Regions from separate parts of the Homo sapiens genome. Here all the other regions are linked to region 5. The links are contacts of gene promoters, found by promoter capture Hi-C in blood cells and fetal thymus (Javierre and others, 2016). All regions are on one chromosome and are shown on one strand. Each heading gives the region's core, a stretch centred on a gene start or on the middle of the fragment in contact. The rest is flanking DNA. Distances are from core to core; before and after follow the strand shown. Region 1 overlaps LOC105370461 (a long non-coding RNA gene). Region 2 overlaps GEMIN2 (gem nuclear organelle associated protein 2). Region 3 overlaps SEC23A (SEC23 homolog A, COPII component). Region 4 has its middle 38 kb from the start of FBXO33. Region 5 holds the start of MIS18BP1 (MIS18 binding protein 1). Region 6 overlaps LOC105370461 (a long non-coding RNA gene). Region 7 overlaps LOC105370461 (a long non-coding RNA gene).

Region 1 (3,992 bases), core at 545-3,044, 5.8 Mb after region 5:
ACCAGAATTGACAACTCTCTTTTTTGGGCACATACACTATCCATTGTACTTAGTTGATTACTTGATTATACTGTCTCCCATAACTAGACCATAAACTCCTAAGATTCAGGGACTACATCTTTTCTGCATTTATATTCCTAGCACCTGGAACAGAACCTGCACATAGATGACTAATAAATATATAATAAATATATAATATTAATAAATATATAATAATATATAAAAATAAATATATATATAATAAATGAATAAATGATTGATGATCAAAAAGTATAAACAAAGCAAACATCACTTTATATAAACTTTTATTAATAAAAAATTTTAAATAAACATTTCAATTCCAAATATACACATTATGTAATTCCTTGTCTATGGAGTGGCTTTTACCTTGCCCAATATTACATTTTACAAAATTCGTATAGATGAAATCAGAATAAAGAAGATATGTGAAGTTAGATTTTCCCATTAGCATATAATTCATAAACTCTTAATTACCATGAGATAATCTAAAACAAGATATTCTTAAGAGAATCAACTAAGGAAAATTTAGCATAAATAAATTTTATTTATTTAATAATGAGTCAGCATTGCTGAGGGACAAACCTGAGATTTGTAGTACTGAAATTATTCATATCACTTACATAATCCAGAATCATGAAGAGGGTTGAGTCTGAGATTTGAGATCCTCATATTGATTCTAGGGAACCTTAAGGCACCCAGGCCTCTCTTTAGAAACTGATTACGCTATAGGGAGAAGACACTCAGACCTTAACCAAGTCTCCTATCTGAATTTAAACAAGAATGTCTAAAGCACTCTCTTTAAAGCACTCTCTCTAAAGGAACCTCCAGGGAGCATGGCCACTCACTTTGAGTCAATAAAGGATCAAAGAAGTGTGGGCAGTAAGGAGCCACACCTTGTGACATGGCCCTGTTTCACCATGCAATTTTCACAGGGGTCTGCACACACACATTCTTAGCCAATAAGCCGGACACCTCTTGTACTGAGCAAAATCGGATGTGAATTCTTCTATTTTCCTCCCACTTGCTTCAGATTTCCTATTTTCCATCCATTCTTATTTTCTTATCTTCCTTTCTAAGGCTGATCTCATCCCTTCCCAGTCAAGTTCTGAGACCTAAATTCATAAACCATCTTCTTCTTCAGTCTTCCTCATTTTCCTCTCCACCAGTTCCTCCCTACATACCAATACACCAAGTCTCTTCTGTCTTGGAGGCAAAAAAAAAAAAAAAAAAAAATCCTCCGTGAGTCTTTTGCTCTGAAGAGTCAGGTGGCATATCCTAATTCTTCTTCCCTTCACTTCAATCTTCATAAAAGACTTCACCTGCTGCAATTCTCTTCTCCCTTTTATGGCACAATTCCTTGAAACTGAATTTCCCAGGTTCATGTCTTGGTACCACTTTCCCTGAAATTACCAATAACCTTCAAGTTGCCAATTCCGTTACTCCTGCTCAACTTCTGAAGCTTTATGCAACAGTGATCACCTCTGTCTACTGATGCATGCTTGCCCCAATTTTACACTCCCAACCTCTGCACACTTCTCTTGAATAGTTCTCACTTTCCTTCCCTAGAGCCTCTTTTGCCTTCTGCCTCTAAAATAGAAAGTAGAAGATGTACTAAACACTTTAGTCCTCATCTTGTTCTCACTTGACATGTTCTTCCTTAGGGATTTCATCTATTATTTTTGTCCTTCCTCCTTTCATTGATTTAACAGAGGTCTATTATTAGCCAATGATGTGACAGGTACTTTTCCTGGAGCTTGTTATTCAGCAATGAACAAGAATTACAAGATCCCCATTATCATGAGCTTATATTCTAGTGTGTGTATGTGTTAGAGGAAGGAGGGCGGCCAGTGATAGATACTAAACAAATTAAAAGGCAAATAACCAAGAAAGTATCAAAATAACTTTGCACCTGAGCCTATGAGTTTAGCTTTCCCAAGGTGGGCAAATGTCAGCCCTAGAGTATCTTGCTAGGGAGCTTGCCAGGTGAGACTTCTGTGTGGAAGTGAAGATGGAGGCTCAGAGTGAGCCACCCAGCCTGAGCTGACTCCAGCTCATATCCAGAGGGCTCCCCAATACCAGAAGCTTTGTCAACCAGCAGCATCACTAGGCTCTGACCAAACTGTGGGAGAAGCAATCCAAATGCTGAGAGAGAGCAGCAGCAGCCAGCAAACAAAGGACATCGCCATGGCAACCAGAGGAGCCTTGGGATAATATGCAAATCTGGGAATCCTGCCTTCCTTAAGCTGTAACATCATAGAAGCCACCCCAGCACCACATACTTAGATGTTGTCTTAGGAAGAGAAGCTATCTGAGACCCTGAGCAATTATTCCAAGACACTAAGCATTATTGAAACGAAATGTTTAAATTCTTACATAAGACTAAGCTTTAAACCTGATTAAATCCATTTTCTTGTGTTAGCTGTTGTTTATCTGTTTGTTCCCCCATGATCCTAATCCCCCAGTACTCAGCAGGTTGAAGATTATAATGGGTATATTAGAGAGGCGACAACAATCTTTTCTCCCATATTTCTCAGTTATAAAATGGGTAGGATTATGACACAGCTATGTGTTTGTCTTTAATTCTGACTCCTTTCTTGAGTTTTGTACCAGCATTTCTAATAGTCTGCTGGTCTAAAATAAAATTTGTGTCTCCAACCTACAGAGCAACTTTTTCCTAAATCTTTTGTCTCAATTAAAATTAATTTCTGCATGATGGTTTTAGTTGTCTCCCTAACAGAATAGGTTCCTTTTTCCATTCTGACATACACATTCTCTTTTGATTGTCAAATTATTAATGTTATTTATCTCTCACTGTTTTACTTCTTCTGAGAAAACCAGAATCATGATATTGTAAAAACCAGAGATGATTCTACAAAGGCTGTGAATGTCCCTCATTTGCAATCTTATTGGACCCAATCTTTTTTTCATTGTCATTGCCTTGCTGCTGAAACAACAGATGCACCCTCTCTCTAGGCCCAGAGACTATGGGGGAAAAGGTGGGTGTGTGAGATTGTAAGGGCCAGTTTTGAGGGACAGAATTAGTTCAGACTCTCCAAATCAAGGACAGGCACACAGATTGCCTAAAGAGCTGGCAAATTTTTGAGAGACTTTTCCTCCTGAGCCATCTTGTGGTCCCTTTCCATCCATCCAACCATAAAGAATTTCCTGCTTTCCATAGAAGTAAATGAGAATTACTAAGAGAATATCAAGACACCTGGTGACAAAGCCTTCTCAGTATAGTTGTTCCCAGTTACGGGGTTCACACAAATAATGATATAATAAGAAATTTTTCAGCCACCTTAAGATAAATTACTTAAGAGATTGCAAAAGGCATTGCAGAACAACAAAATCTCTAAATTCCTTAGCTTAAAATGGTTTTAGCAAAATGCTTATGTTTTATATAGCTAACGGCTACAAGTCTGTAACTAACACCAAGATTGTAGTAGCTCAGTGCATAGAACTGGTAAGTCACTTTTATAACCTTACTTTTTGGCTTTGGTTTTTGGCTCTTATGTTGCTTAAAAGGTTTTAAGTGTTGATGGTTACCTGCCCACCTCCATTCTCATCTGGCATAAAATGTTTAGTTGGCTGTAAGTCTTTTGGCTCTAAGTCCCTCTGTCACAAGGGTCCCACTGAGGGACAGGATGGACCTGCAGCAGGTAGCCACATCACCCCAGCAATGATATGGGACAAAAGAAAAGTCTGGCAGGTCTTGGCCAAATGGGAGAGAATGTAAACTAAAAATAAAATTCTAAGCCCCTTCAATTGATTAAACAGACCATTTCTTGGCCAAAGGAACCCCAGAGAAATCTTGAAAACTGAGTTCTCAGTCTTGATGGGATGGAGAGGTCAGACACATGTTGTTATACTCGCTACCTTGCTAACCATAATTAGCCTTTCTTCCCTAAGGGCTTAGCAGAAACCAGCCCTTTCAAAAGACTACACCACTGATATCAACCAACAGCCTGATG
Region 2 (3,964 bases), core at 599-3,098, 6.1 Mb after region 5:
TTTAACATGGTGTATTTTACTTGTATGTATTCTCTGAAAATAAGCTAAATAAGTAAGTTTTAATTCTTTATAAATTAAAAACCATTTTTGGCTAGCCATGATAGCTCATGCCTATAATCCCAGCAGGAGGATTGCCTGAGCCCAGGAGTTTCAGGCCAACCTTGCAACATGGTGAAAACTTCTCTCTACAAAAAAATTTTTTTAAAAAATTAAAAAACTTATCGCTACAAAAAATTTAAAAATTAGCTGGGTGTGGTGGTGGGTGCCTGCTGCCCCTGGTATGTTGAAGGCTGACGTGGGAGGATTGCTTGAGCCCAGGAGGTTGAAGCTGTAATGAGCTATGAGTGCACTACTGCACTCCAGCCTGGATGACGGAAGAAGACCCTGTCTCAAAAAAAAAAAAAAAAAAAAAAAAAAAAAATATATATATATATATATATATAGCTATTTTTGAAATGTAGCATATGTTAAGGATATCATCCAAAAGATCAATTGGTTATATAGAAAGAGTACCAAATTAACTTCCCTAAGATTTGAGTCTATTTATACTCCTGTACCACGTCTAAGAGTGCTTGTTTCCCCAGCTCTTGTCAATATGGTGTATCAAACTTTCTTGGCCAATATGTTACCTGAAAAATAGCACCTTGGCATAGTTATGTTATACTTCTATTACAAGTGATTTTTGGCATCTTGTCATATAAGAATAATTTTATTTCCTTTCTGTGAGGTATCTATATCCTTTGGCTATTTTTTCTTGGGCAGGGGAGGGGTGATTCTTGGTCTTTTTATTGATTCTTGGGGCTTTTTACATTTTTAGGAAAAATTAGTTTTAAATGTGAAAAACACAATGTGGCACCATATAGCAAATAATAAATACCTGTTGAACTGAAAAGAACTACATGCTATAGGGAGTAAGCGCTAATGCAGAGGCATGCACTGGATTCTCAAGGAACACCTGCAAACTTGGGGGCAGGTAAATCCTGAAGGACAAGGAGTTGTCTACATAACTTATGATTACAGCCACATGAATTTTAAAGATATCCTCAACATTTCATCTTTAGAATATGTGATTTATTTTTTACAGGCCCATGAAGTGATAGATGTGATTATGCATTTTAAAGCATCTAATTGTGTCGATTTCCATTTTTTCCCTGGCTACTCATAACACTGTTTGCCTGATGCCTCATCATTTAAAAAAACTATGAATCTTATCCAACTCATAAAATGATTACCAAGCCAAACATAAGGGATATGAAGCCAAACTAAAAAAAGTCACAGTAAATTGTTTCAGAAACTAAGCTGTTTTGTTAGGTTGAAGAGCTAATAAACTAAGTCTGGGTTGGCAAACATTTTCTATCAAGAGTCAGACAGCAAATATTTTAGGCTTTGCAGGCCACATAAAGTCTCAGCCACATATTATTTGTTTCTTTTTTACTCTTTCAAAACCTAAAAACAATCCTTAGCTCATGGATATAAAAAAGGCCATGAACTGGACTTGGCCCAGGGTAGAGTTTGCTGACCCCTTATATTAAGTGGTGCACCAAAATTAAAATGCTTTTTGTTCTGTTTATCCACACAGCCCTTACTTGTACATAATCTATTCCAGGACTTTCATTTGTGGCTGGTCCAACAGCCCCGTCAGCACATAACTTTTCACCCAGACAAAATTTCTTCCAGCCTTCTTCATCTTCAGATTTTGGCTAAAAGAAAAAAAAAAAAACTGATTTATTCCTGTGTATTAATTTTTACACTGAACAGTAAAAAAAAAGAAGTTAAGTCCTTCCATATTCCCATTACCGCAACCCAAAGATACGGAGCCAGTTATGGGGAGAATCTCTGCCCCCAAATTTGTATGTTAAAACCTTAAACTCCAGTACCTCAGAATGTGACTGTATTTGGAGACAGGGCCTTTAAAGAAGTGATTAATTTAAATTGAGGCCATTAGGGTGAGCCGTAATCCAATCTTACTAGTGTCCTTATAAGAGGAAATTTGGATTCACAAAGAGACACCAGGGACTCCCACACACAGAGGAAAGACCACGTGAGAAAACAGGGAGAAGGTGGCCCTATGCAAGCCAAGGAGAAAAGCCTCAGAAGAGACCAACCTTAGGCCGGGTGCGGTGGTTCACGCCTGTAATCCCAGCACTTTGGGAGGCCGAGGCAGGCGATCACATGAAGTCAGGAGTTCAAGACCAGCCTGGCCAACATGGCAAAACCCCACCTCTACTAAAAATACAAAAAAAAAAAAAATTAGCCGGATGTGGTGGTGCACACCTGTAATCCCAGCTACCCAGAGGCTGAGGCAGGAGAATCACTCGAGCCTGGGAGGCGGAGGCTGCAGTGAGCAGAGATTGCGTCATTGCACTCTAGCCTGGGCAACAAGAGCGAAACTCTGCCTCAAAAAACAAACAAACAAACAAAAAGAGACCAACCTTGCTGCCACCTTGTTCTTTGACTTTCAGCCTTCAAGACTGAGAAAATAAATACATTTCTGTTGTTTAATCCACCTAGTCTGTTATGGCAGCCCTGACAAACATAGTGCCTAAGTGGCTACACAATATGTGGGACATGTTGTTTTTCCTTATTATTACATTTTTTGAGACAGGGTCTTGCTCTGTCGCCCAAGTTGGAGTGCAGAGGTGTGATTACAGTTCATTGCAGCCTGAATCTCGGGCTCAAATAATTCTGCCACCTCAGCCTCTTGAGTAGCTGGGACTACAGGCATGTGCCACCATGCCTGATAATTTTTAAATTTTTTTTGTAGAGATAGTTGTCTCACTATGTTGCCCAGGCTGGTCTCAAACTCCTGGCCTCAAGCAATTCTTCTGCTTTGGCTTCCCAAAGTGCTGGGATTACAAGTGTGAGCCACTGTGCCCAGCCAAGATGTGTTTAGTTTGGACAAGACTTTAGTGGACACTGACAGACAATGGTGTGTCCAAAAGAGGATGATAAAGACAGAAATAAGTATGGGGGAAAAAATGCACCAAGAACACTTAATAGAATGAAGGATATTTATCCCATGTAAAGAGACATGATTACATATTTCACATATTTGAAGGGTTGTCCAGTCAAAGAAGAAACAGATCTACTCATGCTGCCAGACAGAAAAAGCAGGACGCAGGACTATTTGGGAGAAGCATTCAGCTCAATATAACCTCCTTAACAAAATAACCTTTGTTTGTACATATCACCTTGTATATTACTTTGCATAGGTGCATTTTCCCCCTAGGGATAAGTAGCTTTCATTAAATCCTTAGGATGAATCACCTGAGGTCAGGAGTTCGAGACTAGCCTGGAAATATGGTGAAACCCCGTCTCTACTAAAAATACAAAAATTAGCTGGGTGTGGTGGCAGGCACCTGTAATCCCAGCTACTTGGGAGGCTGAGGCAGGAGAATTGCTTGAATCCAAGAGACAGAGGTTGCAGTGAGCCAAGATTGTGCCACTGCACTCCAGACTGGGCAACAAGAGCAAAACTCCATCTCAAAAAAATAAATAAAATAAAATAAAATAAAATAAAACCTCACGATGAACATGAGACCACTACAAAGTTAAACCCTATTGTCTTGGAATAAGGTTATCTACCTTTTCCTAACACTCTATTAGGTCAGAAGCTGTTTCTGTTTCAGTTAGTACTGAATATCCTGATTATTAAATATAGCACATGCTTAAATTATTGGATCAATTAATAAACAAATGTTTATGTTTTCACACAGTTGCCATCACAGTGTACTTTATTTTTTAAATAATTTAAATAGAGACAGGGTTTTGCCATGTTGCCCAGGCTGGTCTCGAACTCCTGAGCTCAGGTGATCTGCCCACCTCAGCCTCCCAAAGTGCTGGGATTATAGGCATGAGCCACTGTGCCTGGCTCAGAGTGTACTTTAAAACATTTTCATTTTATTACTTATATGATGTTTGCATTTGCCATGACAAACACTTAAAATTGCTACATAATATTCCA
Region 3 (3,862 bases), core at 1-2,500, 6.2 Mb after region 5:
CCAGGAGTTTTAAAAGATTTAATTATTATTATTGTAAATTATTTTTAATTGATACCAGTTTCTAATGCCCTTTACTTGTTAAGAATAATACCTGTTTTAACTTCTTGCCTTTGTTAAAAAAAAAAAAAAAACCTGTAATACTGACAGGGCTTTTTTTTTTTTTTTTTTTTTTTTTGCTTTTTCTTTGTTTTATGGTGATTTTTACTTTTTCAAGTAGCTTGTTAAAGGAGAAATCAGAAATGCACATGATTGTTTTATACAGAGGTATAAAGCTATAAAAGAATGTGTTGACTGATTCAGCTAACTTAGAAAATAAACCAGGCATAAGTTTTTAGATGATTTAATTACATGGTGTTTAGAGCTACTTACCTATGGATTGATTCAATTGCTTTCACGTATCATAAGCTTAGGTAGATAGCTTTTAGCTAACATTCATTTGATAAGCATAGTGTTTTAAAAATTTTCTGACTTATGTAAGTATTCTTTCATTTTACTTTTAAAGGAGAAGAAATATTCTAATTTTATATTTATTAAGAATATTTTCTCTACTGAAATTGTAACTTTTAAAAAATTGAGGTAAATGGAATAATGGTCTATAATTTTTTTAGTTTCTAAAGATTATTTTCTTTGGAAAAATCTCAAGATTTTTGGATGGGCAAGAAATTTAAAGTAATTTCTTTAATTGTTTTAAAATTAGACCATAGCACAGTGGCGGAAGTCAGGATACCAGGATATGCCTGAGTATGAAAATTTCCGCCACCTTCTGCAAGCCCCAGTGGATGATGCACAGGAAATTCTTCACTCCAGATTTCCAATGCCAAGATACATTGACACTGAACATGGAGGCAGCCAGGTAAGTAGTGTTAATTTGTTTGTGTGTTTGTTTGTTGTTAGGTTTGCAGTGAGGTGTACCTGCTTGCCTTCTGATTTTAATAGATTGCTTCATAAAGCAGACAGAAAGGTAAGGAGATAGGTGGGGAAGGTATCAGTGCTTACTTTTTGCATTAGCTTTTGAGAGCAAAACAGTAAGATTATTGACTAGTTGCCTAAACCTGGCACTTTCCATCATCTTCTGTCTCTAGCCTAGCTTCCTGAACAGGGCCAGGATGGCATTGTGGTGGTATACTAGCTTTGGTTGAACAAGAAAATGTGAACAGCTTGGAAAGTAATATACTTTTCTTAAAGCCGTTTATTTACTGTTAAAGTCTATGAATATGACATTTGTGGTAACTTACATTTTTTCATTGTCTTCATTCTATCATTCCAATTTTCTAGAAAATAAAATTTTATGTAATAGGAAAACACTGTAGTATTATGAAAAGGTTTTGTGGCTTTTAGGATTTTGAGGATACATATACGTTAGATACATATACATACATACACAGTTGCTTTGAGACCTTCAGAAGGCTAAGTTAGGTTCCTTAACATACTCTCATAAAATACTTCTTACTTCTCTTTTGTAATTCTTATAAGAGTTATAATAAATTAATTATAAGTTGTTATTAATTTGTTTTACATGCTCTTTGAAGGCAGGGACTATGCTTTGTATTCCCTAGTGCCTAGTACGGTATTATAAAATAGGTAGCAAATATCAGTAACTGTTATTCAGAAATGATAATTACTATTAGTTTTACTGTATTTATATGAGAGTTATTTCATATTGAGAATTTGCAAAGTACTTCTGCATGCCTTATCTCATTTGATCCTCATAAGAATTCTAGTGTTATTTTCATTTAACAGATAATAAAACTGAGATCTAGGTTACTTATGGCCAAGGGAACACAGTAAATACAGGAGTGGGATTTGAGTCCTGGTACTCCAGGGCCAGTGCTCTTCACTGTTAGGTTAAACTGATTCCTTAGAGAGTAGAAAAAGATTTTGTATGATACTAAATTTCAAAAGATGTTACTGTCTATGTGCTTCCATTATGAGTTAAAAATCTTACTGGTTCTTTCATTGATGTCTCACTGTGTGTATTACCATTTTCCTCTTTTATTCTGGTTATTATTTTCATGATGATAAGCCATAGTGGGTAGAAGGATAAAATGTTGGATCACTTGTCTCATAGAATCACCTGTGGTTTAAGAAAGCTTAAGGGTCATTATTTTAAGCAAAAGAACATACAGATTTTCATGGCTTTTGTTTTTATCATTATTTGGGATTTTGAACTTCTGACCAAGTGTTTAGTAATTTCACACCAACCTTGTCATAATTGTTGCACACATAATTTTTATATGCTGAGTTTTGGACTCAACAATGTATTTGTTATTTTGGATGTATGATTTGGAGAGAAGAGGTGCATTTATTATTTATTTGTAACACTTAGTGACCTATACATTTCAAAGTTTAATCTTTTAAAAATTAAGTTAATAAAATTAATTTTACCAACACATACTAAATAAAATTGATTTTGCATGATATAATTATTCAGCTGATATTGACTGAAACCATTTTTGATGGATAATGTTATTTCTTCTTTGCTTTTAAGGCCCGTTTCCTCCTTTCAAAAGTCAACCCTTCACAGACTCATAATAATATGTATGCCTGGGGGCAGGTAAGTTTAAATAGCAGGTCTTGGAAATTATTTCTTTGTGTATTTATTGTTTATTATTTTAGTGAAAGCTACATTTTTTTCCTGTGTATTTAGTAATGGTTTCTGTTGGAAAAGTAATGTAAAAATGAGAGTAGAAAACAGAATTAATATTTGGCGACACCATAGGACAAAAGTGATCCTATCAAATAGACTCCAAGTTTAGCACTATACCCTTGAGACAAAAAGCAATGAAGTGTGTAAGACAGGAAGTGGTGACTCCAGTTTAATGCTAGGTTGTGAACCACAAAAGGCCACGATAAGCCAAGAGAGGCCAGGGATCATAGTTGAGAAGGAGGGGCAGGAACCCTGCAAATCATTATTGATATAGTTTAATTTGGTAAAAGTCCTGCTGGGTGTGGTGGCTCATGCCTGTAATCCCAGCTGCTCAAGAGGCTGAGGCAGGAGGATCACTTGAGGCCAGGAGTTTGAGACCAGCCTGGGCAACATAGCAAGACTCCATCTCTTAAAAAAAAAAAGTGTTAACCTCTTGGTATAACATATCAACATTTATTGAGTGTCCAGTATGTTTAGGACTTTGTATTGGCTCTTTAGGGTGCAGTTATTACCCATGCCTTTGGAGAGCTTGTAGTCTAATATTAGAGATAAAATACATACCTAAGTAAATTACAAGGCAGAATGGGATATTTGTCCTTAGAAAGCTATGAAGTATTACAAAGGTTAGAAGAGGAAGATGGCAAGAGGTCACATAGTGGTAGCAGGAAGAGGGTGTGTAATCAGAAAAGAGCTCAGAAAAAAGAAACATTTCATTTAAAGAATGGTTATTTCAGTAATTGGAAATTGCATGAGGAAGGGAAATCTAGGTAGAGAATAGTATGGGCTAAGATAAAAGACTACATGCAGAGCTGACTAGAAGAACATAAAACGGAAATGTGTTGTACAAGTAAATTGTGGAGGATCTTGAATGTCAGGTTGAGGAGTGAGAAGTTGAGTATTTATTTGGTAAGTAATGGAGAGTCATTGAAGGTGGACAGAGGGCAGATTTGAGTCTTAGTATAGTTGAATCTTAAGATTAAATGGAAGCAGTCTGTAGGTTGAAAGTATATTTACGAAAATAATCCAAGTGAGAGGGAGTAAAGGCAAGATGGTGAAAGGAATAGATTTGGGAGATATTTTAAAAGTAGACTCAATAGGACTTGATTAGAAGTTGCAGGAAAGTAATTATTCCAGGGCATGGCAACTATGCACAAAATCTGAATTCTGATTGAATCCTGGATTAAAGGGAGAGAATAGCTATAAAGAACATAATTG
Region 4 (3,859 bases), core at 1,258-3,757, 5.9 Mb after region 5:
TGGATCCTTATGAAGCCAGTAACATAACACAGTGCTAATGGAGTAACACAGCAGATGTGAATAATACCCAGGGACCATACCACATTGTATCAATGTTTCCCAACCTTTGTCATGTTGTAGCACACATAGAAAATATTGTACAGCATACTGGTATAAACCAGAAAGAATTAGAGAAAAAAATTACTTTTTTTAAATTATATAATTGATGAAAAAATGTAGAAGATTTGAGGAAAAATACTGAATTTGTATGGAACTTTCAAATAAAATCTTGCCAGATGTTTTAATTGATTTAATTGACATTTGATTAAAATGTTTTAATACTGTCACCAATGAGAAACACCCCACAAACAGGTAATAATTTTTAGGTCTTTTTTAAAAATAACCATTCGTTAATTTATGCAGTTGAAACTAAGAAATTTAACGCTTCCTTCTTTGGGAAATAATGTTGTGAGTTAAGTTCAAATTCAAATTGATGTTTATTACAATTATTTTAAAATCATGATGCTCTAATTTGTAATCTCCCTTACATAATCCTACTGCTAGGTGAGACACCACTGAAGAGTAAACAGCCACCAACTTTATATATATGTGAAGGCAATTAGAGGCTGCAGGGAGCCCTCCTCCCACCTCCAGCTCCCAACCCTTTCAAATCCAACTAGCCACACCTGGGGGCCTCACACTTGGGCTTCCTTCCTGCTCTTTGGACACCTGGAACGTATTTCTTTCACAGCTTTGTAGACGCCCCCCCCCCCCCCCCCCCCCACCCTTTTCTGTGATGGACAGTGACTCATCTGGCTAGGAATAGTGAGTATCTGAGTTTGCTCTCTGTCCAGGGCCTACTTTCAGAATCAGCTCCACTCCCACTGCTCAGAAGAGCCTGAAAGCATCAGAAGGCAACCAACCCAGGCTCCAGCCACCCCAGGACTCATTAGGTGTCCTTGCAGGGTATCACCCCTGGTACAGTATACTAATTAATTTGGTTTGCTGGTTGTGGAAAGAAACGGATGATGTATTATGAGTAAGTTTTCAGGATACTTGAATCATCCTTTCTGAAAGATTTTTTTAAAAGGGCAAGATATACCATGTGTTGGCAAGGAAGAGGAAACACAGGTGGAACTTGAACTGATATATCCATTTTGGAAAGCAAACTTGCAATATCTTGTAAAGTTGAAGTTGCCTGTGCCCTGTAACCCAGATTTTTCACTTTTAGATGTATTCTCTAATCCCATGTTTTCTAACTTGTTTTCCTAGCCCCTAAAAATGTACCCCTTTGCATATTTTTAAGTTAAACATGTAACATTGGTCATAATCTTAGCAGATATAAACATCAGCAGTTTAAAGTAAATTACATACATGACTTCTTAAAATATGTATAATGGAATCTAAATGCTATAGTAATTTAGTACTTACCATCTTTTTTTTTTTTTTTTTTTTTTGGACAGAGTCTCACTCTGTCACCCAGGCTGGAGTGCAGTGGTGCGATCTCAGCTCACTGCACCTTCCATCTCCTGGGCCTACCAAGTAGCTGGGACTACAGGCCTATGCCACCAAGCCCAGCTAATTTTTGTATTTTTTTTAGTAGAGTTGGGGTTTCATCATGTTGGCCAGGCTGGTCTTGAACTCCTGACCTCATGCGATCCTCCCACCTTGGCCTCCCAAAGTGCTGGCATTACACGCATGAGCTACTGCACCCAGCCTACTTACCAACTGTTTTTAAAATGCAATTCACTCACTCTTGATCACTAGAAATTTTGTCATTCATTTTCCTCCTTAAGCTTGTATATTGTCAGTTATCAGTTTATTTGCCTTTTAGCTCTGAATGAATCCTTCAATATATACTCTCTCATAATGAAAAACAAAAAACATTCACACCCTCTTCACAAGAGTGCTTACCTATGAGGCAGGCATGAGGACAAGGATCAGTGTGGATGGGCATGAAGGTAATTTTATCTGTAATGGGGCATTCATTATATTATTTTGTTATTTCCTATTTTAAAAAATAATTTGTAATTTACTGATCCAAGTTACAAACAAATGAATGTTCATGGACTGACTTGTTTCATAATGCTGAGTCTAAAGTCAACTGTTGTAGTCCATTTTGTGCTATTACAGAAGATCTGAAACTGGGTAATTTAGAAAGAATATTAATAATTGATTTCTCACAGTTCTGGAGGCTGGGAGGCCCAAGATAAAGACACCAACAGGTTTGGTGTCAGGTAAGGGCCCTATCTCCACCTCCAAGATGGCACCTTGAATGCAACATCCTCCGAAGCAACAGTGTAATCTCACATGGCAGAAAGAGAGCTAATCTACTTTTGTAAGCACTTTTTATAAGGGCAATAATACATTCATGAGGGTGAAGCCCTCATGACCTAAATAAACTTCTCCCATAAGACCCCACTTTCCAACTCTGTTGTATTGGGGACTAAACTGTGAATTTTGGAGGGGACACATTCAAACCATAGCAGTGACCAAGGCAGGAGGACAGAGTATTGCTTTCTATCCTTTCATGCATTACTGAATCACAGTAACTTGAAAGAGGCTCAAAGATCTACTGAGAGCTTAAGACCTAGTTGTTTGTAGGAAAGTTCTGAATAGATTTTTCAAAATATGTCACTGTGTGGGGGAAAAGGGGAGATACTGGTCAAAGGGTACAAACTTTCAATTATAAAATTCTGGAGATTTAATATACAGTATGGTGACTACTGTTAATAATGTATATTTGAAATTTGCTAAGAGAGTAGATCTCAGGTGTTCTCACCACACCAAAAATGGTAACTATGTGAAGTGATGGATATTTTAATTAGCTTGAGTATTGTAATCATTTCAGTATATATATATATGAAAACACATTGTGTACCTTAAATATATGCAAGTTTTGCCAATCACACCTCAGTAAAGCTGCAAAATGGCACTGTAATTGACTCTACCATATTTCAGTTTAAAGCACTATTGTCATTAGATTAATACTTATTTAATGTGGACATTATATCCAACAACCTCAGCTATTTGAAGTGTAGCCAAGGATCCAGAAATAAGTATAAAAGACTCGTGGAGCTGGATTAGTCCCTGACTAATGGGTAAAGGTGTCACACTCAGAAGAGCCATTTCCAATTCCTGCTAGCTCACTTTGTCTTATTTTCAGCATAATTCTAATAAACCTGTTCATCAGGTTTCTCAGTCTACAGTGGGTTAGAAAGGGAAAGGAAGGGGGTGACTGTGAAAGGCATGCAAGCTTACACATGTGAAAGCAAGAGCATAATCAGTCTTAGGCCATTTTGGAGTTTGAAACAGACTTCAACACCCCTATAACAAACCTGAACTACAGGGCAATGGTAAGTATTTGTAATGAACTTGAATCAATATGAAAATTACACTGTGTTCAGAATATTGGCATAAATTAATGGAGCATTTAATACATTTTGGAAATATTTCTACTGAAGATGGCTAAAATAATACTATATATTTAAAAGACTAGCCTTTAGCTAAAAAATACACACTTAAGGCCGGGCGTGGTGGCTCAGCCTATAATCCCAGCACTTTGGGAGGCCGAGGCAGGCGGATCACCTGAGGTCAGGAGTTGGAGGCCAGCCTGGCCAACATGGCAAAACCTCATCTCTACTAAAAGTACAAAAATTAGTCGGGCGTGGTGGCGGGCAACTGTAATCCCAGCTACTCAGGAGGATGAGGCAGGAGAAGCTTGAACCCAGCAGGGGGAGGTTGCAGTGAGCCGAGATCGCACCACTGCAAAAAAAAAAAAAAAATCACTTAAGTAAATTCTCTGAGAAACAATGTTGATAAATAGACTAAGAAATACCATAACTTATATGTATTAAATATTTACTGTGTGCAAAGCACT
Region 5 (3,719 bases), core at 1,083-3,582:
TGCAGCTGGAGGCTACAAGATTCTGCCCCTCCTTAAACTGCTCCCAAGATCAGTGCTTATTTTTCAGACCCAGCACTTAGGGGATCAGCTGGCACCACCCAGATCAATAAACTGGCTCATCTGATTTTGTGACTCCCCAAACCAGAAACACTCAGCGCAAGAAGACAGCTTCTACTCCCTATGATTTCATCCCTGACCAATCAGCACTCTAGTTCACTGGGTTCCCCGCACCAAATTATTCTCAAAAACTCTGATCCCCAAAAGCTCAGGGAAGACTGATTTGAGTTATAATAAAACACTAGTCTCCCGCACAGCCGGCTCTGCGTCAATTACTCTTTCTCCATTGCAATTTACTTGTATTGATCAATCAGCTCTGTCTAGGCAGCACGCAAGGTGAACCCCTTGGGCGGTTACAGCATGTTGCCATTTAAGGGACAGAGGTACTGTCCCTTGGCCTCTAGGCTTTCTCATCACACTTTCTTATCCACAAACTGTTTAATCCAATTTTGCTTGGAAAATTACTAGTCATCTTATGTAAATTCCTGTGGCCATTCACATTGGGACATACTACATACTACTTCCTTCTTACATGAGAAGTGGCTAATTTAAAAAAAGTGTGCATTTCTGAGTGCCTGCTGTTAATACTTCAGGGTTCCTATTTTGTCTAAATGTGTGAGCCACGGCCATCTTCATCAGGCACAGAAACGTCCTATACCTCAATTTCAGGTGCTTTAAAATCTGAATGACCATCCCTTCAAACTTCCTCTATCAAAGTATATTTCATACATGCCATTTAACCTGTTTTAAGGTGGGTTTTTCCCAAAAAAGTAGTGCAAATCCATGTCCAACCATTTTCTCATTATGGTGTACAAGAAAGAAACTTCATTTTATCCAGGTAAGTTTGCTTCCTTTCCCCCTACCTCCAACTGTTTTTCCTTATTTGCATTCACGTGGATGTTTTAAATTTATATTTTGGATTTTGATTATTCAGTGTGTACAAAATTTAGTACATGCAGGATTTAGAAGGGACTGCAAAAGTCACTTTAAAAAAAAATTACCACCTTTTCAGTAAAGCCTCTTAATGGGGAAATGTGGTATGTGACTAGAAGTTGACTAATTTTCTTAGATGGAAGTATAAAATAAAAAGAAGCTCTGTTGTCACAAATGCGGATGGGGGGAAGAGGACAGACTTCATGCAGGACTGGAGTTGGACAGGGTTCAGGGCTGAGAACACACCTTACTACCCTGGCTTCCCCTTCTCTACTTTCAAGACTGAACCAATGTGCCCTATACAAGGCGAAGAATACACCCGGTCACTCCGCGGTGGTTAGAGTGGAGATTCACTGGGTGCAGTCTAAAGCGGGACGCAGTCTGGGGGCCACCGTCACAAGCTGCTTACAGCAACCTAGAGTTGTCGAGATTAATGTTTCTGGAATGTGAAGTGACTTAAAAAAAAATTAATCACTTCCTGGCTCGGTGCGGTTGCCTGTAATCCTGGCACTTTGGGAGGCCGAGATGGAGGATCGCTTGAACCCAGGAGTTCCAGACTAGGCTGGGCAACATGGTGAGACCTCCTCTCTACAAAATAAAAATAAGCCAAGCATGGTCGCGCGCGCCTGTAGTTCCAGCTACTCGGAGGCTGAGGTGGGAAGATCCCTTGGAGTTCCAGACTGCAGTGAGCCGTTATTGCGCCACTGCACTCAGGCCTAGGCGACAGAGCGAAACCCTGTCCCCCACGCCCAAAAAATCGTATTTCCTGAGGGAACAGTTCCAACTAAACATCCCACTTTGTGCGTAACTTTACATTCAATCCATCATCACCTCAAGAACAAAATGTTCTTTCTCCGCCTCAAACATGGAGGACAGAAAAACAGAAGTTCTCTCAAACCCACCAAGCACGCTGTTTTCCTGAGACGGAAAAGAAGGATAACAGCCGCTACGGCGCACAGCCTGTAGGGGAGGACGGCAACCAGGAAAGGCCAAACTTAGCCGCAGTAGTGCCGGGGCGTGCTCGCGGCCCACGGCGTCCCACGTCGTCCCACGTCAGCCTTGTCCCGGCAGAGCTTCACGAGAGGAAAGGCGGGATTCAGGGTGGGCGCGTGCCCTACGAAGACGAAACGAACTTTGAAGACAACTAGAGGAGCTCGCCCCCTGCCTGTGACAGCTTAGGGTCGCCTACTTTTTGTGGACACACTGCCGTCCACGGAGTGCAGAGGCCGCCTGCAGTTTTCTTGCGTCCCTGTGAGACGCACGGTGGCGCAATTCCCGAGCGTGCCAATCCCGGGCTGGCTGGAGGGCGGGCTCTTCAAATTTGAATTGCGGAAGTGTTTTGTGTGTTAGAGAACGTCGCGGAGGAGGTAAGCGTCGCTTGGCGCCTGGCCGCCGCGGGCAGGATACACCGTGGGCCTGAGGCGCGAGCCCGGCGGCGTGCGGCCCTCTCTCCGCGCGGAGCCGAGCCGGAACTGCGGCAGTCTCTCCCTGCCAGGCTCTTCATCCAAGGTACGTCCTCCCCGCGCCCTCCGCTAACCTCCTACCGCGGGTCCCCGCAGATGGTGGGCGTCTGCCCTTTAAGCATCTCGGCTCACGCGGTTTTATTTATTTTTTTTGTAGATTTCTGGCTTTGGTACGGATTTTATACTTCGCACTCGATGTTTACTTGTTGCGTGTCTACTGTACTTAAGAGAGTAGAACACGATTGCTCAAATTTATTTCGATGGTGAGCGTTCTAGGTCTTTGTTCTAAAATAAATTTTTTTTTTTTTTTTTTAGAATACCAAGTGGGAAAATTGTATTCCTCAGTACCCAACTCTTCCCCTTGGGACCCCAGGACCCACAGGGCTATAGAAGCAGTTGATCATTCAGCTTATGTTTTCTTCTGGTTAAATTGCATGCTTGTTGCAAACATCTTTAGATGTTAATAAAATTATTTAGAAAATGGTCGGGCGCGGTGGCACACGCCTGTGATCCCACACTTTGGGAGGCCGAGGCGGGTGGATCTTTTGAGCTCAGGAGTTCAAGAAAATGGTAGGCCACTTCATCCTGGCCTTCAAAGATAAACACTGTTTACAATTTGGTTCACCGCTTCCAGAGTTTTTCTCTATGCCTGTATGTGTTTTATTTATTTACTTAAAAATTTTTTTAAACAAATGCAATTCTATGTTGTTACTTTCTTTTTCAATTTAATGTTTCTTGGATACTTTTCCATATAAGTACATATATATCTTTTTATTGAATACATAGAGTAAATTGTATGGATGTGGCGGGATTTATTTTGTCCTTTATTGGTAGACATCTGGGTTGTTTCATTTCATTTTATGCTGCAGTGAACTTCCCTGTGTAGTGGGTGTGTAGACTGTTGCCTGTTGGTAAATAACTGAAGCTATGGAGTCGGGTAGAATCGGTTCCTCTTTCTCACTTATTGTCAAGTGACCTTGGGCAGCTTACTTAACCACCTTATACCTTAATTTCTCTTTTTTCAAATTGGGAGTAATAACAGTACTTAACTCTTTAGAGTTGCTGTTAGATTATATAGTGGCTGGCATGTAAATATTCAGTAAATATCGGCAATTATGGTACATATATATTTGCATTCTTACGCAGATGTTTCTATAGGAAAAAACAAGTTAGAAGTGGAATTTCCGTGTCAATAGTATGCATACTTGCATTTTGAAATTAATATTTACCAATGTGATATGAAAAAGAAATCTCACTGTTTTAGTT
Region 6 (4,057 bases), core at 986-3,485, 5.8 Mb after region 5:
AGACAGAAAAGCTACCAGAAAGGAAAACAAGAAAAAGCCTCATTTGGAACAGGCAGAAGGTCAAGCTGGAGTTCCCAGTGTGTTCTGTGTTTCTAACTCACACATTCCAACCTTGGAGGGAGAGAGGGACATCCCCACTGTCTACTTAACAGGGACAGATGATAGTGATCATGAGAATTTCAGTACAGTTTCCCTCTAGGAAATCTACAGAAACAAGGTGAGGCCTGCAGTTATTTATAGAAGCTGGATTACTCTCTTGGGTTTGTGGTGGAAAGCATAAACCTGGAAAAGATGACTGTCTTTCCTTCCCTTCCTTCCTTTCTCTCTCTCTCCTGTCGTCTCTCTCTCTCTCCCTCCTCTCCTCTCTCCTCTCAACTCTCCTCTTCTCCTCTTTCCTCCTCTCTCTCCTCTCCTCTCTTCTCTTCTCTCTCTCCCTCCTCTCTCTCCTCTTCTCCTCTCCCCCTCTCCTCTAGTTTAACGTATGAGATTTCTATATAACCCAGAAATTAACATTTTATTACAAACCCACCAAAATTCAATAGTTTGAACCTTCTGGTCAATCATCCTATCACATGTTTTCTCCTTAGAAGTGAAGTTTTTGTTTGACAGGGACACTTTTTAAATAGGATGGAGAACAACACTAAGATTATTACTCTGTAAAATAAACACTATTTTACTCTATAAAATAAACACAATTTTACGATTTTAAAGCCTTCCTTTGCTTAACAGATACAAAATGTAACCACATTCCCTGAGCCTAAAGGAGTCCTGATGGCAATAGAAGATGCTGTCAGTCCTTATAGCTCAAGTGGATAAGAACTATAGTGGAAGCTTCAAATAGAATCACTGGTGTAACAACAGTAGCCTTTCAGATAAGGATTTCAAGTGGATATGTATGGAGGACAGAAACAAAAAGAATGTCTCCCATAAACTGACAAGTGAAGAGCACTATTCCCAATACCAAAAACTGTTTATACCTGAAAACAAGCTTATATGAAATTTAAATAGAACTTGATGGCATGAAAAAATATTTTTAATTTGGATTCAGGCAGCTCTAGAAGGAGTTGATGGAGCTCTATTTCAATATTTCAACACTGACATGACTCAGTTATTTATCTGTGCTTTACTGGGTTTTGCTCTTATAAGCAACGGCCTATCTTGCTGTAACTTCTGTTTAAAAACAAACCAAAACTAGCCAGGCATGGTGGCTCATGCTTGTAATCCCAGCACTTTTGGGAGGCTGAGGCAGGTGGATCACTTGAGGGCAGGAGTTTGAAACCAGTTTAGCCAACATGGCAAAACCCCATCTCTACTAAAAATACAAAAATTAGCCAGGCATGGTGCCGCATACCTGTAATCCCAGCTACTCGGGAGGCTCAGGCAGGAGAATCGCTTGAACCTGGGAGGCAGAGGCTGCAGTGAGCCGAGATCACACCACTGCACTTCAGACTGGGTGACAGAGCAAGACTCTGTCTCAAAAACAAACAAACGAAAAAAAAAAACTAAACTAAAAGAAAGAATCTCAGAAAGGAGATTCAGCCAGGTGCAGTAGCTCACACCACTTTGGGAGGCCATGGCAAGAGGATCACTTGAGCCCAGGAGTTTGAGACCAGCCTGGGAAACATAGTGGGACACCATCTCTACAAAACAAAAACAAAAACAAAAAACAATAATAAAAAATCAGCCAGGGCCGGGCGTGGTGGCTCACATCTGTAATTCCAGCACTTTGGGAGGCCAAGGTGGGTGGATCACTAGCCTGGCCAACATGGTGAAACCTGGTCTCCACTAAAAATACAAAAAAATTAGCCAGGTGTGGTGGCAGGCACCTGTAATCCCAGCTACTTGGGAGGCTGAGGCAAGAGAATCGCTTGAACCCAGGAGGCGGAGGTTGTGGTGAATCGAGATCGTGCCATTGCACTCCAGCCTGTGCAACAAGAGTGAAACTTCATCTCAAAAAAAAAAAAATCAGCCAGGTGTGGTGGTGCACACATATATTCCCAGCTACTGAGAAGGCTGAGGCAGGAGGATCGCTTAAGCCCAGGAAGTCAAAGGTGCAGTGAGCCATGATGGCATTACTGCACTCCAGCCTGGGTGACAGAGTGAGACCCTGTCTCAAAAACAAGAAAAATAAAAAGAAATATCTAATTGACCAGCAAATGGCCACTTCTATGTAGGCAATGTCTTCATTGCATCTTCCGGTAGGCCACTGGCCTGGGTACAGTTAGAGTGAAAGAGCACTTGACCCAACAATCACCAATTAGCTATAAACAAGCTGGCAAAGTCACATGGCACTACACAGAGCCACCATATGCAAGGAACTGGCTAGAACTGCTTCCCTGGCAATGACTGTGGCCATAGCTAGTTTCACACAGATGGAGCAGCATCCTTTCTTTAGAAATCCAGGCACTAATATGCTTTGTTCTCAGCTCTGGGCCCTCAGCCCAAAATCACAGGGAATGGGAAAAGCTCTACTTCTCAACTTGCTACATTAGGCTACTTTGAAATTTACATTTTTTATTATTCATTTTAGTAGCTCGACTTAGGAGCCTTTTTTAAATGGTACTCTAGGTAAATTTTTGAATTATTTTTTATTTTTTTTGTATTTTTTCATTATTCATTTTTATATTTTTTATTATTCATTTTAGTAGTTCTACTTAGTAGCCTTTTTTAATGGAACACTTTAGGTAAAATTTTGAAGACAGTTGGACAACAGAAATCCTTATGTTCTTTTGATGTATACAGTAGTTTCTTTCAAAATTGTCCCCAGAGAAATTCCAATATACCCAAAAGGACTCACATTCTACTTCACAAAAAATAAAAAGTTCTCTATGCTATCCAAAAGGAAAAGAAAAAAACAAGATTTTTTTCTTTGTTTAAAATGTTTGAAGGTCTTCCAGCTACAAAAGTTAAGCGTTTGGACTAGTTCATTAGAATTTTGTGTTAACAACCTATCTCAGGCATGAACAAATAACATTTTCGCTACTGGCAAAAAGACAGGCAGAAAAATAAAGACAATTGTGTTTGGGTTGTGGTCTGGGTGGGTGAAGGTGAGGGAAAAATGAGAACACCGCACACTATGAAACTAGCCACCTGCTACAAAGCCCAGCAGTATCTATATTAAACTAAATATAATTTCATATTGGTGTCTCCAAATCTAATTCAGTACCACATGGTTCATTCTATCCTCTTGCTTTTCTGCAACCTTCTTCTCCAATAGTGAGAAACTTGGCTCCCATCAATCACCAAATGTATGGTAATACATTTACTTATTTGTCAGTTTCCAGTATACACGTACAGCAGTTTCAGAATTGCTAACCAATACCCCTGTGAGAAACAACTTTACCAGCTGCAGCATTTATGTACACTTTTGTCTTTAATCTTACAGTTTCTAGTTAAAACACTGTTTTCCAAAAATTATTCAGGTCAGCACCTTTTCCCCCATCCCTTTAGTGAAGTTATATCACATATCTGAAACAAGCTTGTTAGGTTCTTTTGTCACCATTGCATTCCCCTCCGGGATCCCTAACTCTTGGTTGATTGATTTTTTTACTTGCACATATTAAGCTCTTTATGCTATAAAGTTCTATCAGTTTTTTCAAATGCATAGTATATGTCCACCACTACAGTTTACTTTTAACTCTACAACTCCCCCATTCTTTCCCCCAAGTGAAAACTCCCCTTTCCTCAAATCCCTAGCAACCACTGATTGGTTTTCCAGTCTTAAATTTGGCCCTTTCTAGAATGCCATATGAATGGAATCATTCAATATGATGTAGCCTTTTCAGTCTGGCTTCAATAACTTGGGAAAATGCATTTAAGACGCATCCATGTTGTAGCATCAATTGCTTATCATTGAATAATAACCCATTGCATGGATGTACCACCGTTTATGCATTCACCTACTGAAGAACTTCTTGGTTGCTTCTAGTTTTTGATGATTATGAACAAAGCTGACAACTATGATTAAAGCACGTGTATGGATTTACATTTTCAAACCAATTTGGTAAATACCTAAAGGTGCTTTTGCTGGGTCATGTGGTAAGTCTGTGTTTAACTT
Region 7 (3,945 bases), core at 237-2,736, 5.8 Mb after region 5:
GGCTATTGGTTCTACCCTCTAAATTATTTTTTTTTCATAAAAAATAGCCATGTTCTTAGCATGCTTCCCATATGCAGAAGTTTGGGGTCAAAGGCATCTTTTCATTTTGTACTGTCTCTATGCCTTTCAGTATAAAACGATACAATCCTTTAAAAAAATTGTGTGGATCAAGAGAGAGAAAAGAAAAGCCACTGACTGGAAAAAGTATATGCAAAAGACACATCTGATAAAGCACTGTTACCTAAATATATAAAGAATTCTTTTTTTTTCCATTTTTCCCTCTGAACTTTTATTATAAAAAATTTCAAACATACAGCAAAATTGAAAGATTTCAGTGAACACCTGTATACGCACTACCTGAATTCTATCATTAACTTCTTTTAGCATTTAGAACCTTCTAAATCCTCTCCCTTGTTCCATTTTTAAATTTTTAAAATTGAGTTGAAATTTACACAATGTAAAAGTAATCATTTAAAGTGAACAATAAAGTGACATTTACAATTAGTCATTCACAATATGGTACAACCACTATCTCTATCTAGTTCTAAAATGTTTTCATCACCTCAAAATAAAACTCTATAACTATTATGCAGTTAATCCCATTCTTCCTTCCCCCTAGTCCCTGGCAACCATTGATCTCCTTTCTTTTTTATTATATTTTAAGTTTTAGGATACATGTGCACAACGTGCAGGTTTGTTACATATGTATACATGTGCCATGTTAGAGTGCTGCACCCATTAACTCGTCATTTACATTAGGTGTATCTCCTAATGCTTTCCCTCCCCCCTCCTCCGACCCCACGACAGGCCCCGGTGTGTGATGTTCCCCTTCCTGTGTCCAAGTGTTCTCATTGTTCAGTTCCCACCTATGAGTGAGAACGTGCGGTGTTGGTTTTTGGTCCTTGCGATAGTTTGCTGAGAATGATGGTTTCCAGCTTCATCCATGTCCCTACAAAGGACATGAACTCATCATTTTTATGGCTGCATAGTATTCCATGGTGTATATGTGCCACATTTTCTTAATCCAGTCTATCATTGTTGGATATTTGGGTTGGTTCCAAGTCTTTGCTATTGTGAATAGTGCCACATAAACATATGTGTGCATGTATCTTTATAGCAGCATGATTTATAATCCTTTGGGTATATACCCAGTAATGGGATAGCTGAGTCAAATGGTATTTCTAGTTCTAGATCCCTGAGGAATTGCCACACTGTCTTCCACAATGGTTGAACCAGTTTACAGACCCACCAACAGTGTAAAAGTGTTCCTATTTCTCCACATCCTCTCCAGCACCTGTTGTTTCCTGACTTTTTAATGATCACCATTCTAACTGGTGTGAGATGGTATCTCATCGTGGTTTTCATTTGCATTTCTCTGATGGCCAGTGATTATGAGCATTTTTTCATGTGTTTGTTGGCTGCATAAATGTCTTCTTTTGAGAAGTGTCTGTTCATATCCTTTGCCCACTTGCTGATGGGGTTGTTAGTTTTTTTCTTGTAAATTTGTTTGAGTTCTTTGTAGATTCTAGATATTAGGCCTTTGTCAGATGAGTAGATTGCAAAAATTTTCTCCCATTCTGTAGGTTGCCTGCTCACTCTGATGGTAGTTTCTTTTGCTGTGCAGAAGCTCTTTAGTTTAATTAGATCCCATACAAAGAATTCTTAAAATTCAACAATAAGAAAATGAATTCCCCAGTCAAAAAGCAGACAAAAGATATGAAGACACCTCATTAAAGATATACAAATGAAAAATAAGCATATGAAAAGACGTTCCATATCACATGTCCTTAGGAAACTGCAAATTAAAACAGCAATGAGATACTACTATACACCTATTAGAATGGCAAAAATCCAACACATTGCCAAGACCAAATGATGGTGAAGATGTGGAGAAACAGGAACTGTCATTCATTGCTGGTGGAAATGCAAAATTGCACAGTCACTTTGGAAGACAGTTTGGCAATTTCTTACACAACTAAACACACTCTTACCACATGATCCAGTAATTGCAAGCTCCTTGGTATATGCCCAAATGAGTTGAAAACTTACGTCTACACAAAAACCTGCATGTAGATGTTTATGGCAGCTTCATTCATAATTGCCAAACCCTGAGAACAACCAGGGTTGTCCAGTAGAGGAACAGATAAACAAACTCTGGTACATCCAGAGTTTGGAATATTATTCAGTGCTAAGAAGGAACGAGCTGTTAAGCCACAAAAAGACATGGAAGAAACAAATGTATATTACCACATGAACTACATGATATTTTGGAAAATGCAAAGCTGTAAGAGTTAGTAAAAAGATTTGTGGTTGTCATGGATATGAAGGTAAGGATAAATAGGCAGAGCACAGAGGATCTGGAGGGCAGTGGAACTACCTTATATGATACTATAATGAAGGATATGTGTCATTATACATTTGTCAAAACATATTGGTGTATTAATAGAATATACAACACCAAGAGTGAACCCTAATGTCAACTATTGACTTTGGGTGAGAATGATGTACCAAGGTAGGTTCATTGATGGTAAAAAAAAAAAAAAAAAAAAAAAAGTACCACTCTGGTCAGGGATATTGATAGTGTGGGAAATTTTAGGGAGAGAGGGGAATGGGGAGAATATAGGAACTTTCTACTTTCAGCTTAATTTTGTGTAAACTAAAACTGCTCTAAAAAAAATTTGCAACAAAAAACTGTGTGGATTTCTTGTTTATAATCCACTCCATTAGACAAAACCTGTACCCACAAATCTCTTCAAGATAAGTCCTAGAGCTTCCTATAAGGGTGCCGAGGGACAATGCTCTTAAAATTCTCAAAGGACTTTTTCTTTAATAAAGAGGATCTGTAAGGTATGTCATGTCCTTAAGATAATTAGAGAGACTACTGTCTGTGTGAGGCATGACATTAAATTTCCTGAGGTATTAGAACTAAGATTTTACAATCACTCCCTTGGCTTCATGATAAACCATGTTTTAATGACAGTACCCTAGATTTGCTCTCCTTCCATAAAGAATCTTCTTAATTTTAGAATTCTCTGCCGTCAGGAAAAACTGGAAAAGAGAAAGCTTTATTTTCAAGTCCAAGAAGTTCTGGCTCCTTTATATTTAACAATTATTTCTTTAGCTTACCTCTCTCCTATCATTTTACTATAAGCAGCAAGAAGAAGCCAGACAATCACCATTTTCTGCTTTTCACATTACCACAGGTGATAAGGTGGCCAAACTTCATGTCATTACCTAACAATGATCCTCTTTCCTCCAGCTCCAATGATATTTTTTCACTCTCCTCTAAACCCTCTCTGATAGCCTCCTTGAGGTCCATCAGCCTTCCACAGTCACCTGAAGGCCCTCTCACCTTCTGCCCTCTGTCTAGTCCTGCCTAATCCTGTCTAGTCTAGCTTCAGCCACTACCACATTTTAGATTTCTGTTACATGGCACTCACTTCCAGATAACAAAATCTGTTTTTATGATTGCATAACAAGTTCCTCCAAAATTTAGTGGCTTAAAACAACAATATTTATTTTTGTCAGGTATTTGCAATTTGGACAGGGCTCAGTGAGAATAATTCCTTTTTTTGCTCCACTCAGCATCGACTGGGGAAGCTTGAAGGCTGGAGACTAGAATCATCTGAAGGTTCATTCATATACCTGGTGGTTGAGTCTGGCTATTAGTTGAAACCTTAGCTGGGGCTATAAGCTGGAACATCTTCACTGGCCCCTCCATGTGGCCTGAGATTCCTCACAATTTCCAACAAGTCATGAAGTCACAGAGTGTTAATTCTTCAGCACTCAATTCATTGAAGCTGTTCAATTCAAGAGAATAGAAATGGATTTTACCTCTTGATGCAGGGAAGTGGCAAAGTTCTAGAAGATCATCAAGGGCTGGAAATATTGCTGTGGTCATTCCAGAGAAATGCAATCTATAAAACAAATAAAGATGCAGCAATC

The links. Contacts are between HindIII fragments. The CHiCAGO score rates a contact against its expected background, and 5 or more counts as called.
Region 1: a contact is called between a fragment that was not itself captured here and the fragment with the promoter of MIS18BP1 in region 5, in 7 of 17 cell types (naive CD8 T cells, total CD4 T cells, activated CD4 T cells and 4 more). The highest score is 14.0, in naive CD8 T cells.
Region 2: a contact is called between a fragment that was not itself captured here and the fragment with the promoter of MIS18BP1 in region 5, in 11 of 17 cell types (naive CD8 T cells, total CD4 T cells, non-activated CD4 T cells and 8 more). The highest score is 15.4, in naive CD8 T cells.
Region 3: a contact is called between a fragment that was not itself captured here and the fragment with the promoter of MIS18BP1 in region 5, in 8 of 17 cell types (total B cells, total CD8 T cells, non-activated CD4 T cells and 5 more). The highest score is 7.2, in total B cells.
Region 4: a fragment that was not itself captured here is called in contact with the fragment with the promoter of MIS18BP1 in region 5 in 2 of 17 cell types (total CD4 T cells and naive CD8 T cells); the score reaches 14.5 in total CD4 T cells.
Region 6: a contact is called between a fragment that was not itself captured here and the fragment with the promoter of MIS18BP1 in region 5, in 7 of 17 cell types (naive CD8 T cells, total CD4 T cells, activated CD4 T cells and 4 more). The highest score is 18.7, in naive CD8 T cells.
Region 7: a fragment that was not itself captured here is called in contact with the fragment with the promoter of MIS18BP1 in region 5 in 7 of 17 cell types (naive CD8 T cells, total CD4 T cells, neutrophils and 4 more); the score reaches 10.1 in naive CD8 T cells.

What each region holds. Positions count from the first base shown.
Region 1 is chr14:39,486,978-39,490,969 of GRCh38, reverse strand. The region is part of intron 2 of LOC105370461 (a long non-coding RNA gene); the gene reads right to left. All of the region lies in intron 2 of LOC105370460 (a long non-coding RNA gene), which reads right to left. All of the region lies in intron 2 of LOC112267899 (a long non-coding RNA gene), which reads right to left. Among named protein-coding and RNA genes, the nearest start is that of FBXO33, 57 kb to the right of the region's middle. The HindIII fragment of the contact is 623 bases long and covers 1,483-2,105 here.
Region 2 is chr14:39,120,166-39,124,129 of GRCh38, reverse strand. GEMIN2 (gem nuclear organelle associated protein 2) reads right to left here. Exons shown (of 10, transcript NM_003616.3): 5 at 1,587-1,700. Among named protein-coding and RNA genes, the nearest start is that of GEMIN2, 7.8 kb to the right of the region's middle. The HindIII fragment of the contact is 5,325 bases long and covers 1-3,964 here.
Region 3 is chr14:39,037,723-39,041,584 of GRCh38, reverse strand. It overlaps SEC23A (SEC23 homolog A, COPII component), which reads left to right. Exons shown (of 20, transcript NM_006364.4): 18 at 698-853; 19 at 2,489-2,554. Among named protein-coding and RNA genes, the nearest start is that of SEC23A-AS1, 63 kb to the left of the region's middle. The HindIII fragment of the contact is 1,685 bases long and covers 408-2,092 here.
Region 4 is chr14:39,392,802-39,396,660 of GRCh38, reverse strand. No RefSeq gene overlaps it. Among named protein-coding and RNA genes, the nearest start is that of FBXO33, 38 kb to the left of the region's middle. The HindIII fragment of the contact is 1,460 bases long and covers 1,778-3,237 here.
Region 5 is chr14:45,251,815-45,255,533 of GRCh38, reverse strand. MIS18BP1 (MIS18 binding protein 1) reads left to right here and starts at 2,332. Exons shown (of 17, transcript NM_018353.5): 1 at 2,332-2,499. LOC107984674 (a long non-coding RNA gene) reads right to left here and starts at 2,243. Exons shown (of 4, transcript XR_001750746.2): 1 at 1,893-2,243. RefSeq lists enhancers at 1,684-1,743, 1,814-2,003, 1,165-2,114, 2,024-2,203, 2,304-2,363. The HindIII fragment of the contact is 13,340 bases long and covers 1-3,719 here.
Region 6 is chr14:39,451,196-39,455,252 of GRCh38, reverse strand. The region is part of intron 1 of LOC105370461 (a long non-coding RNA gene); the gene reads right to left. Among named protein-coding and RNA genes, the nearest start is that of FBXO33, 21 kb to the right of the region's middle. The HindIII fragment of the contact is 2,490 bases long and covers 991-3,480 here.
Region 7 is chr14:39,470,290-39,474,234 of GRCh38, reverse strand. LOC105370461 (a long non-coding RNA gene) reads right to left here. Exons shown (of 8, transcript XR_007064121.1): 2 at 3,835-3,917. Among named protein-coding and RNA genes, the nearest start is that of FBXO33, 40 kb to the right of the region's middle. The HindIII fragment of the contact is 3,159 bases long and covers 1-3,065 here.